Linked DNA regions of Homo sapiens: regions 1, 3 and 4 are each linked to region 2. Evidence: promoter capture Hi-C in 16 types of primary human blood cells and fetal thymus (Javierre and others, 2016). All regions are on one chromosome and are shown on one strand. Each heading gives the region's core, a stretch centred on a gene start or on the middle of the fragment in contact. The rest is flanking DNA. Distances are from core to core; before and after follow the strand shown. Region 1 overlaps EXOC6B (exocyst complex component 6B). Region 2 holds the start of SFXN5 (sideroflexin 5). Region 3 overlaps EMX1 (empty spiracles homeobox 1). Region 4 has its middle 9.2 kb from the start of EGR4.

What was found. Contacts are between HindIII fragments. The CHiCAGO score rates a contact against its expected background, and 5 or more counts as called.
Region 1: a fragment that was not itself captured here is called in contact with the fragment with the promoter of SFXN5 in region 2 in 1 of 17 cell types (total B cells); the score reaches 5.2 in total B cells.
Region 3: a fragment that was not itself captured here is called in contact with the fragment with the promoter of SFXN5 in region 2 in 2 of 17 cell types (fetal thymus and endothelial precursors); the score reaches 6.1 in fetal thymus.
Region 4: a contact is called between a fragment that was not itself captured here and the fragment with the promoter of SFXN5 in region 2, in 1 of 17 cell types (activated CD4 T cells). The highest score is 6.2, in activated CD4 T cells.

Annotation. Positions count from the first base shown.
Region 1 is chr2:72,816,972-72,820,191 of GRCh38, forward strand. The region is part of intron 1 of EXOC6B (exocyst complex component 6B); the gene reads right to left. Among named protein-coding and RNA genes, the nearest start is that of EXOC6B, 7.5 kb to the right of the region's middle. The HindIII fragment of the contact is 3,098 bases long and covers 176-3,220 here.
Region 2 is chr2:73,070,016-73,073,174 of GRCh38, forward strand. SFXN5 (sideroflexin 5) reads right to left here and starts at 1,697. Exons shown (of 14, transcript NM_144579.3): 1 at 1,589-1,697. The coding sequence starts at 1,690. RefSeq lists a silencer at 636-1,425 and enhancers at 1,566-1,615, 1,816-2,295. The HindIII fragment of the contact is 14,604 bases long and covers 1-3,159 here.
Region 3 is chr2:72,921,258-72,924,156 of GRCh38, forward strand. The region is part of intron 1 of EMX1 (empty spiracles homeobox 1); the gene reads left to right. Among named protein-coding and RNA genes, the nearest start is that of EMX1, 5.2 kb to the left of the region's middle. The HindIII fragment of the contact is 1,563 bases long and covers 617-2,179 here.
Region 4 is chr2:73,301,202-73,304,266 of GRCh38, forward strand. No RefSeq gene overlaps it. Among named protein-coding and RNA genes, the nearest start is that of EGR4, 9.2 kb to the left of the region's middle. The HindIII fragment of the contact is 241 bases long and covers 1,208-1,448 here.

The DNA of each region.
Region 1 (3,220 bases), core at 475-2,974, 250 kb before region 2:
TTTTCATTTTTCCAGTTTGCTTGATAACTCAATGAGGACATTTTTTAAAAACAAGTTTCTCTTTATCAAACCACAAAAAAATTTATTCTCCTATTCCATATTGTAATGAAACTTATTTAACATTATCCACCCCTTTTTACCCAAATGTACAATTTCAACTTTTTGCTAAATGTTAAGCTTTATTTATATAACATGCACTCAGATCATAATGCTTTCATCATTAGAGTTACTATTCTTAAACCTGCAAACTTTTGACAGCACTACAAAGAACACTGAGGAATGACAGGCTTTTTAAAAATTATTTTAGATTACACTTCTGACTGATGAAGAGAAAGAAGAACTATAAAGTTATATGTAGTTATAAAAAACATTTCTGATATGTAGAGGCTTTTGAAATTTTCATTAGTTTTATTTTCTCTCAAAAAGAAGTCATATTTTTAAGACAGTTAATCTGCAAATCAGTTAATTAATTCCCAGATAATTAACAGTTGGTGATACAATTTTTTAATTCTTCTATTCGTTCAACAAATATTTACTGAGCACCAACTATATGCCAGGCACCCTTTGGGTTCCCAGGATACAGCAGCAAACAAAAGAAACAAAATCCCTTCCCCCCTTGAACAGACATTCCAACAGGGTAGACAATCAAAAATAAAATGTCAGGCTGTAATAAGTTATTCAAAGAAAAGTAAAGTTCCTCCCTTTATTGTTCCCTATCCCAATAATTGGCATCACCATCATCTGATTGCTTAGGCCAAGAGCCTTGGAATCATCCTTGATCCTCTCTTTAATTCCCATAACTAATCCATCGTTTTGGCACTACCTTCAAAACATATTCTAAATCCAGCTACTTCTCATCACCTCCTCCCTATTACCATATTGCATGCCATAACCATCTCTTGCCTCTTATTACTGCAAACATCCCCTAACTGGTTTCCCTGTTTCCTCTCTTACTCTGTCTCCACACAGCAGCCAGAACATTCCTTGTTTGTTTGTTGTTGTTGTTGTCATTGTTTTTGAGACAGAGTCTCGCTCTGTCGCCCAGGCTGGAGTTCAGTGGTGCGATCTCCACTCACTGCAACCTCTACCTCCTGGGTTCAAGTGATTCTCCTGCCTTAGCCTCCTGAGTAGCTGGGATTACAGGTGCCCACCACCACGCCAGGCTAATTTTTGTTTTGTTTTCTTTTCTTTTGAGACGAGTCTCGCACTGTCTCCCAGGCTCGAGGGCAGTAGCGCGATCTCGGCTCACTGCAAGCTCCGCCTCCCAGGTTCACGCCATTCTCCTGCCTCAGCCTCCCAAGTAGCTGGGACTACAGGTGCCTGCCACCAGGCCCAGCTAATTTTTTTTTTTTTTTTTTTTTTTGTATTTTTAGTAGAAACGGGGTTTCACCATGTTAGCCAGGATGGTCTCGATCTCCTGACCTCGTGATCCGCCCGCCTCGGCCTCCCAAAGTTCTGGAATTACAGGCGTGAGCCACCGTGCCAGGCCATTTTTGTATTTTTAGTAGAGACACGGTTTCACCATGTTGGCCAGGCTGGTCTTGAACTCCTGGCCTCAAGTGATCTGCCCTCCTTGGCCTCCCAAAGTGCAGAGATTGCAAGCATGAGCCACTGTACCTGGCCACATTCCTTGTTTAATCTAAGTGACCACATGTCACTTTCCTGCTCAAAACTCTCCTGTACTTTCCCATAATGCTCAGAATAAAAACTCTCCTGTACCTTTCCATAACATTTAGAATAAAATCAAAGTCTCTTTCTTAGTCTACATGATCTGGACCCTGACTACTTTCTTACCACCACTTCCCACCGTTATCCTTTTCCTGAGGGCCTTGGCACTTACTGTCCCCTTTGTATGGAAGGTATTTCCCTCACAGAGAGCCATATGGCTTGTTGCTTCACTCTATTCAAACCTTTGCCAAAGCTACCTTTCCTAATCCCCTAATTGAAAGCAATAACCCAGTCATTATGTAACATTAATCGCTAAATAGCACTACATTATATATTTATTCATTTATTCTGTAAGTGCCCACTCCGGACTCTATAAGCTCAATAAGGATAGGGACTTGTCTATATTGCTGCCTGCTGTACCCCAGAGCCTGGAAGAGTATCTGGCACATAGACATTGCTCAATATTGAATGAATATATGAATGAATCAATTCATTAATAAAGCCACTAAAGTGACATCATTATAATGTATAAACCTGTATATAACATGTTAACTGAAAAAGCAAGACACATAATAATCATCTAATATTTAATATAATAACATGCATATAAAAAAGTTAAGAGGAAATATAAAAATATAAAAGTGGTGGAAAGGTAATAGAATTAAGTTATTTGTTGTTGTTTCTTCTTAAGTCATTCTATTACATTTATAATTAAAATATAAAAATGTCATTTTTAAAAGGGCACTACTATTAAAAAATAAGCATGAGCAATGGGAATGTTCTTCCCCTCAGTGATTGTCAAGGACGGAGTATATCACAATCACCTGAAGGGCTTTTATATATTTATTTCCTATCTCCTCCTCCTTTCTCTGCTCCACCCCAAAATAACCCCTCCCAGGATTGATTATTGATAAGTATTATATCCCTTAGATATGTGGGACCAGGAAAAGGAAACAAAAAAAATAGGCTAACCACTAAACTAACAAAACTCAAAAAATAGAAATACTTAAGTCCACATAGCAAACCCAAGGGTAAAGGTGGAAGATGACTCACACTTGAGTGACCAATGCCTAGCAGGTACCATGGCACCCCATCTACATTGGAGGAAGAGTATGAAAAGAAAAAAGAGAGAGAGAGAGAGAAAGCATCATTCATGCTACCTGCTAGGCAGTAGTCCTAGCTTGGTACCTTGCATTGTACCATGAAGGATGCTTTATCTTCATTTTTCTAATCACTTTTTAGATGAGAAAAAATTGCCCACTTGGGTGGTAAGTTGCTTATAAAAATAAATTGATTTAATTTATTAAAGAGAGCCATGGACCTATAATGAGAAAGTGTCACGAACCAAGGATTATGATTAACTGATCTCTGTAAAGATGAATTAATGGGAGAGGGTGCTGGATGGAAAAATAAGAGCCATGTGGTCAAAGGCACAGAAGTAGTAAGTGGATGCCACATCCCCATATTCACTTATCAAATGACCTTAAATAAAACAGCCTTTTGAAAATATCCCCCTCAATTTGTTTCTTGTTTATAAAGAGCTAGCTTTATA
Region 2 (3,159 bases), core at 447-2,946:
GCTATGAGGATCTGACTCAGGTGGCCAAAGAGATGTGCAGGAGGAAGCCTGCGATCTGATGGGACCAGAGAAGAAGGGAGCAAGTGTTTGCCAGAGAGGCAGGCCCGACTGAGCCTTTAAGAACGAGCAGAATGGGGGTGGGAGCGGGGACAGGCAATGTAATAAGGTCACTCAAGTCCAGGCAGGGACACCCCGACACTCTCGCCCTAGATGGCCTCCTACACTGGAAGGAAGATGCCAGTCTCGCCTCGGATACCTACATGCTGAGATGGCCTACTTTTAAAAGGAATTAAAGTCCTGTTAAGAAACACTGGGGACATTTTTTTCAGACGGCTCAGGAGCCAAGTTCCCTAATTATCAGCAAAGCTCGGGGCACCCCCTTGCTGGAACCAGTCCCCTTCCACCACAACAACAAAAAAAGAAAAAAAAAGCCACCGCACCGACCTTAGCACAATTTCCTTTCTTCCTTCAAAGTTCTTTTCTGGCCGCCTCGGCTGCCGCCCACCCCTGGCAAGCCCCGGTTCACTTCAGCGGTCTCTCTGCCTGTTTCCTAATAAATTCCGTCTCATTGGTGCGGGAGGCGCGGGAGCCCGAGGGTCTGCGGCGCGGGAGCGGCCCCTCCCCGGCTCCGGTCTCCGGGCCCAACCAGGCGCCCGGGCTCCGCGTTCCACCCCCGCCTCCGCAGTCTAGGGCCGAGTCGGCGACGCCCCAGAGGAGGTCCCGGAGGGAAAGGACCCCTGTCGCCGTGCCCCGAAGAGCCTGAGCGGGTGTGCCCAGAGCCAGTCCCCGGCGGCGCGGGGGCCCGGGCGCGGGAGACCCTCCGCGGAGAACACAGCGAGGAAGAGGCTGGGGGGGGGTTCCCAGGCGGCAGCCCCTCGGAGGGACGACGGCCCCAGGGGATGACACAGCGTTTCCCCCGCACGCCCTGGCTGCGTCCCCTCAGGGCATCGGCCGGCTTGCTGCGTCAGCGAATCCTCAGCCCGAGATGGAGAGCAGGGACGGGGGACGCCGGACCGCCGCTCGCCTCGGCACTCGCCCCCTCAACCTGCTGCGCGCGCCGAGCCCGGCTTGGGGGCCAGGGCTGGGGAGTGACCGCGGGGCGCGACGCTGCCCGGCGGCACCGCCAGCAGCTCGAAAGGAACGTCAGTCCCCACCGGGGGAAAAAGTTAGAAGGCATCCCGGCCACGCCAACTTCCCATCCAGGGCCAGACTAGAACTTTGCGTCCCGGGCGGGCAGCTGCACAACCCGGAGCGACCCTGAGCAGCCGCTCGAAGCCGGGCGCTCGGGACCTTGACCGCAGCCGCCGGTGGCCAATCACAGGGCGCCGCGGGCGGGAAAGGCTAGAGGGCGCGGGCAGTCGGGGAGTGACGGCGCCAAGGGCCAATAGGAAGCCAAGATGGGAGTCCGCGCCCGCCCCGTTGACCAATGGGAAAAGGGTGACTGTGACCGAGGTTCCCCCCCTGGCGCTAGCTGCAGGCTCCGCTGGCCGCGGGTGGGAGACCCTTGGGCGGAAGGGGACTTTGGAGGGGAGTTTGCTCGTCCTCTCTTTGCCACCCGCCGGCCCGCAGACCACAGCCCGGTCCTCACCTGCTGGAAGCGGGGTTTGCCCAGTTGGAAAGGAGGTGCATCGCTCGAGGCGCTAGCGGCACTAGCCGCCGCCGCCGATGCTGTAGTCGCTGTATCCGCCATGGCCACTGACGCCCGCAATCTCCGGCCCTTTTAAAATGTCCCTCCTCGGCCCCCGCCACAGCTGCCTCTCCCGATTGGCCCTAATCAACCGCAGCGAGCGGGAGGCGCAAGGCGTTGTGGGGAGTGTAGTTTTTCGCGTCGCGGCGCTTACAACCGTAGACTGCGGAGAGTTGCGGCCGTCCGGAGAGGTCTCGGTGCCCGCTGTCCGCGTTGCAAGGTGCAAGGTCGGCAGTCCAGGAAAGGTGTTCCTGTACGACGACCACGGGCCACCCCTCGCTGCTTAGTTGCCCCCAGAAGTTAGAGTTGCTGCCGTGGGCGTCGCTCCTGGGGCCAGGCAGCGCAGAAGGGTCCCATTCAAGGGGGAACCTGGGACCAGATGGGCAAAGACTCCAGGCGGAGTAGGGTTAACCTCGGAAGGCTTTCTCCAAGGAGTTGCACTGCGGACCTTCTCGTACTTTCCTCCGTCGCCACCCTGCCCACTCGTCCTGTGCTCTCCGGCTGCCCTGACACTCAGTTCCTGGAGCATGCTGGGGCCTGCCCGCCTCCCGACCCCTGAACATTCTGTACCCGGAAGACTAAATCTTCGCCTGATGCTGGCTTTCTGGCTTTAGCCTAAACATTGCATTTCCCAGTCCATCACTCTGCTTGCACAAAATCCCACAGAGGCTCCGTGGCACCCAGCACTTCTCTTTTGCACTCACAACTACTTACTGTTCTGGACAGTCTTTCTTACTGTAAAGTTCACAGGGCAGGGGCTATGACTTTTTGATTCACTTCAGTTTTCAGAGCCAGACATAAAAGGGCTCACAGTAGAGACTCAAATAAGTGTTGGCTGTGAGTTCATCAGTGGGGGATTAAGAGCCCTGGCAGCTTTCACCTTGTCTGGCCAACCAAGGAAGATCCCTCCTGGGCCTAATTCCTGGGCAGGAGGAGAACTTGGGACTAGGGTGGGTGGGGAGGGTGTTAGGTAAGGGGGAGTATTACAGATTGTGGAGTAAGGATCAGTATGGATAATAAACACATACAGTTGTAGAATGGATTAGCTGAAGATTCCCAGCTGAATTACCTGGTCAGTGAGCCAGACTTCGGGAGCTGCCTGTTTTGCCCAAGATGACAGTAGAAATATTTGGTCTTCTAGGGAACTCCACTTTGGGTCTCATTAGTCTCGTGGTGGAGTGCAGGGTTGGCTCATGTCTGCCAGTGTTTCTGGACACTACATGAGCTGTAGCAGTCAAAGTTTTTCATCCTCTAGTAGTTGAACCACAAGAAACACTTTTCATAAAGCTAGGGGGAGATTCTAGCTAGCCACGAAGAACAATTTGTATCTTGGATTTGTATCTTATCTTAGAGATTCTATCTAGCCATGAAGAACTATTTGTATCTTGGATTTGTATCTTATCTTCCCCTGCTAGACCATGCAACTTGAGAATAGGAATCCATTTCTTACCCTCTGTATTACCAATAAATGG
Region 3 (2,899 bases), core at 148-2,647, 150 kb before region 2:
GAGAGGGGTATTCATTTCCCTAGCTCCAGGGACGGCTATACCAGTCCCTTTCCACTTTGCTAACTGTCCTAGTCCGAAACTGACAGCCCGTTCTCACAGCCCAGAATTACTGCGTCCAAACAGGCCGCACCCTAGACCCAAGTTTGTTCTGCCCTTGTGGTCCAGGCAAGGGAAACTGAACCCCTGGTAGGGGTGGTTCAGGCCTCCTTCCCACAGGTCGGGGGGCGGGGCGGTACAGGTACCTGTGCACCTAAGGCATCACCCTTGTCTTTGCAGAAACATGTAGCAATTGATCTGTTTCTCAGGATGTTTGGTGTTGTACTAAACATCCTCTTTCTAACAGGGAAACGTCCTTATTCTTTTGGAATCAAATAACCTGTCATCACTTAGCATCTTGACTCATCCTGCAGTCTCCTGCTTCTCTGTGATAGGGTTAGAAGGACCCCTGTATTTTTGCACATGCATGTGAATATACCCTTTAGGACACATGCTGTCTACCACAACTGGACATGACAATGACCTGGGGCCATTTTCTCAGTAAGGTAGACCCAAAGCAACCTAGCATCCCCCTAAAATAACCAGACTTGAGGCAAAGGGGCATGTATGTTGGTACAGAAGCTTGTTGCCTTCATCCTCTCATCTGGGTTTATAAAGACAAACACAGAGCACTCCACCACACAGGTGACTGACATATACCACATAATTACAAAATAATCACTAAGTCAGAGACACTGGGGCAGACTGCAGACCTGCTTCCTCAGCCCCACACTGCCCTTCACACCTCTGCCTCCTATTCATACACACTTACGGGGCTTTCCACACTGCAGCCTCACTTCTGACCAACCTGGGCCAGCCCAGCATCTGAGGCCAAACCCTGCCAATGCTGGGATGAGCTAGGCTTTCTCTCTCCCTCTCTGGTTCATTTGTCCAGAGGAAACCACTGTTGGGACTTCACCCAGGTTCATAACAATGTTGTTTTTTGAAGCAAGTTATTAACATTAACAAGAAGCATTTGCTTTCCACCCACCTTTCCCTGGCCTACCTCACTGGCCCCACCCCAGAGACTTTAATCTTCCTTATTCCCCACCTGGAGCAGGCTCCATATTTTTCTGCCCTTTACTCATCTCTGCCAGACCACCTCCCCTGACCATCTGTCTATTCCACTATCCCAAGTCAAACTTCTCTTCAGTCGGACCTGAGGGCCCTAGATCTGCGCCACTTGAATAATCAAATGGGGTGTCCCTCACCCATCTCCCTGTGATGTGGTCCCACCATTTTTGTGGCTGCACAGATCCAACCAGTTGAAATTGATAAGGTGACTGGAGATTATTGACTGACCCCTTCCAGGCACTAGCCCCGCAATCCTAGCAACTCTGTTCCACAGAAAACTCCAGCAAAAACTTGGCTTCTTTAGGTAACCAAAGCCCAGAGACTTGGAGGAAGTAAGGTCAGGGAGTTTCCACCAACAGAGGGACAAGAACAGTTACCTGGAGAGTTTTAGCTACAGCATCTCAATTATCTGCTTTTGATTCACTTACATAGATGTTTCCAGAGATGGGAGATGTTAACTGAATTATCCAGGTGATTGTCTTAGAGCAAAGCAACAGGTCAAATCAAGTCCAACCAGTAGCCATCTCTGAAGAAATTAATTGGATCAGTCAATCCCAACAGCTAATTCTGTCAAAATAATCCATCTAGGGTTCCGTGTTTTTGGTGCATCAGGAGGCTGTTATGTGCCCTTACATGAGAATCCATGGGTGATTTTGTCAGGGCCTGTTATGAGTCTGTTAGCATGTGCAACCAAGCCAGAGATTGTGTGAGGGCCTAGTGGGGTGTTCATTGAGACAGGCGCTGTGGGTAGAGGCTTGTTTTGGCATTGATAGTTTCTGACCCCATCTCCCCTACCCCAGCTTCATCCAGTCCAGTGTTATCCCTTCCTCCTGCATGTGGGAGCTGAGTCCCTATGCTGGCCAACATTTGCTAAGGGACAGTCACACTCTAAAAATCCTATACAGTAGATAGGAAAAAAGACAGTAGGGAGGCTGGAACATATATTTACACACGCCCATGCAGAAACCAATATATCTATATCTATATATATTAGAGAGAAAGATGACATCTAGATATTTATACACATGTTTCTTTAGCAAGGGACTATTCAGGGATGAAGCAGGGATGAAGCTTTTCCCACCAGACAGTACTTGGAGTCTCCAGTGTGTGTGTTGGGATAGGGGGTTGGGGGCTTACCCTAGAGGCTGGGTCTCTGGACCGCCAAGGCCTGGGGGAGAGAGAGGTGGAGAAAGGGGAAGAAGGAGCCTGACTTTCCACTTCCAGGTGCTGCCTGGACCACTGACCTAGCCACTGGCCTATTTATACCCCCTGCAAGACAGAGCTAGAGCGTGCTGGCAGGAGTTTTTAATGAGTTAGTAGCCTGAGCATTCAGCCGCAAGACTAGTGCAAGCAGGTGTGAAGGGATTGCTCCTTGTGTACCTTCTAGTTCTTGAATCTGTGTTTGGCAAAGGTGTGCCTAGCACCCCGCTGCTCCCCTTATCACGTTCCTGACCCCCAGCCCTGCCTCTACCCTGGGTCCTCTTGGAGGGAGATGCTTTGCGACCAGTTAACTGAAAGCAAATCGTTGGGGCTGGCGGCCAGGGCAGCGCCCCTGGGAAAGGGCGGAGAAAGAGCGCCATGGACTTTTCTTCCCCACCCCTTGGCCTCTTCCGCTGCCCCAGGCATTGTGAATGTGGGTCCACGCCTCGTCCGGCCTGCCCCATCTCTTGGCTTAACAGAGGGATCTGGAGAGCTGTTATTCCCCGCGTTCCCCCGCGGAGTGGCTCTCGAGTGCGGGGAGGTGTTGCGGAGGGGAGTGGACTTAGGGAAGGGGCGGCAAAAGGGCAAA
Region 4 (3,065 bases), core at 78-2,577, 230 kb after region 2:
GAGTTTTATTCAGTTAAGCATGAGGGGGAATGCCCTGGGGGTCACCTCCCCAGGCAGCAGCAAGTCAGGGCCTAGAATAGAACTGGTTTTATCAATGTTGTGCAGCAGGTTTCTGGTACAGGGTAGGTAGCGAAGGAAGAAAGTTCAACAGGATTTCTAAGCACCTGCTCTCACAAAGGCCAAACCGGTGATCCCTACATTTGGTAGGGACACATGGCCTGCAGGAGACATAGAGAATCTGACAATAGAGTAAAACCTCAAGCCAGGGAGTCAGAGGAACTGAGTCTGACCCAGTTCTGCCACTGGTTTGTTCTGTGACCTTGAACAAATTCGAAATACTTTCTGTGCTTGTGCATTCTCACCTGTGAAATGGGAGTATGTTACCTTCTCTACCTATAGTCTCAGGATTAAGAGTCAGAATTAACAAATTAAGTGGTGGTTGAAGCACAGGCACTTGCTACAAAAAAAAAAAAAAAAAAAAAAAAGGCGAGGTTAGAAACAATATATGCAGTTAAGAAATGATGAGTAATTCTTCCTACCCCAAATGTGTGCCCTGTGTTTTCTGGGCATCTATGTGTATGTGGGTGGAATTGGTCACTATGACATGAATTTCATGACTAGTTGTTTTCTTCCAATCCTTGCTCTCATTCATTCATTATTCATTCATCTAAATATTTGTTGAGGACTTAATACATCAGCCAGTTCAACAACTTATTACAGAAAGGTGTGATGCATGTGCCAGCGGGAGAAGGACCGGATGGTTTGAGATCATAGAAGGAAGCAGGAGGTCGTTAGCTCAACAAGATATTCAGGGAAGGCTTCCCCAAGGAAGTGACATTTGAATGGAGACTGGAAGGTTAAGTAAAAGTTAGCCAGAAAAAGGGAAAGGTTGAGTGGGGAGAATGTTCTGGGCAAAGGGGACAGCATATACAAAAGCCAGAAGGTGAGAGAAAAAAGACAAGGGAGGAGAAAAGGATTCAGGGAACTGGCGGAAGCCCATGATGGCTGGAGTGTGAGGAGGGAAAGAGGCTAGGAAGGGCAAGTGGGGTCAGGCTGGAGAAACTGGTGAGCTCAGGATCCTAGAAGACCTTTTAAGCAGGTTTAGGCATTTGGACTTTTTTTTTTTTTTCCCCCACCTATCTGATCACAAGCTTCTATGCATAGGCATTTGGACTTTTTTTTTTTTTTCCCCACCTATCTGATCACAAGCTTCTATGCATAGGCATTTGGACTTTATCCCTAGAGTAATACGATGCTATTGAAGAGATTTAAGCTGTACAGGCGATGCGATTTTTATCTTAGAATGACCAGCGTTCTAAGACCACCTTCCATGCTCTGATACAGCGTGGAAGGTGACCTGGAACGGGGATCAGTTAGGAGGCCACTGTGGCAAATCAACTGACAGTGGGCCCTCAGACGTGAACAGTGGGTGGCAACAGGAAAGGAGAAGCTTTCAGAGTCAGCAGCCATTTAGGAGCTCTTTTATAACACACACACAAGGGTGAATAGCTACCCTTGGGGCAAAAGAGAGAGGAAGGAGTCAAGGTTGACTCTTGGGTTCAGTTTTGACCATGGGTTAGTCGTTTTTTTTTTTTTCTTTTTCAAGACAGGCTCTCATGCTCTGTTGCCCAGACTGGAGTGCAGTGGCACGATCATGGCTCACTGCAGCCTCAACTTTCCCCAGCTCAGGCAATTCTCCCACCTCAGCCTCCCAAGTAGCTGGAACCACAGGCACGCACCACCACACCCCGCTAATTAAAAAATTTTTTTTTGTAAAGATGGGGCTCTCACTGTGTTGCCCCGGCTGGTCTTGAATTCCTGGGCTCAAGCAATTCTCCTGTCTCAGCCTCCCAAAGTGCTGAAATCACAGGCATGAGCCACCGTGCCTGGCCAGTGGTCATTTATTTAGGTGGAGAATCAGTAGGAGAAACAGAGTCTTCCTCTGACCCACTACGTTTTATTTATGGAGCTTTAATTTATATACAGTGAAAGGAGCAAATCTTAAGTGAATCTACCATTTGATGACTTTTTAACACAAATCAATATATAGAACATTTACATCCTCCAAAAAGTTCCCTTGTACCTTTTTCCAGTCAGTAGATACCCCCTCTTTCGGGTAACCATATTTCTCAGTATATCACTATAGATTAGTTTTGCCTACTCTTGAACTTCATATACATGGAATAATTCAGTACGTACTGTTTTGTGTCTGGCTTCTTTTGCTCAACATAATCTCTGTAAGATTTACCCACTCCATGTTTTTCATGCATCAGTATCAATTAATAAATGTTTTGTATGTATCAATCCTTTTTTCTCAGTCACTAACTTTCCATTGTTTAAATATACCAATTTGTTTATCCATTCTCCTACTGATGGAAGTAGATTGTTGTTGTTTAATTCTATGTTTGTTTTCAGGAGGTCAAAAGGAAGACAACTTAGAAATGAATGACAAGGCGATGACATAACAGTTATAAACCCTTATGACCTACTACATACCTTTAAAATATATCAATTTAAAGTGTGATTGATATATTTTATCACACTTCAAAGATGTCATTTACTTCAGCAAAAAAAACTTTAAAAAATTGAGTAATTACTAGTCATAAACTTAAGAATGTGCAATATGAATATGAAGAAAATGATAAAAATTTTTTCTGAAGGGCATTGAACAATAGACTAGGTGGGGACATATGTCTTATTGGATGGGAAGACTCAATATTATGAATATGTCAGTGTCAGTGTTGGTGGGTTCTCTGTGAAGCAGACATTGAGAGGGAAGGCTACAGGGAGTTTATTTGGGAGTTACACATGTGAGAGATAAAGGCAAGATTGGATAGAAGAGCCTCACACTGCAATGAGCATCTGACAGTCTCAGCCAACCCAGTGGCGAGTTCCAGAGCAAATAACCCATTAGAAGAATCCTGCATTGGGAAGAAGCGGCCAGTCTCTATGCCCTCTTTGCTCTCAGTCGTTGGTGAGAGGCCTAGCTGGAAAGAGCATGGTCTTGGCCTGAAAGCTAAGGTGAACCTGAAAGGTGCTAACAGCTGTAGGCTCATGGATAACTG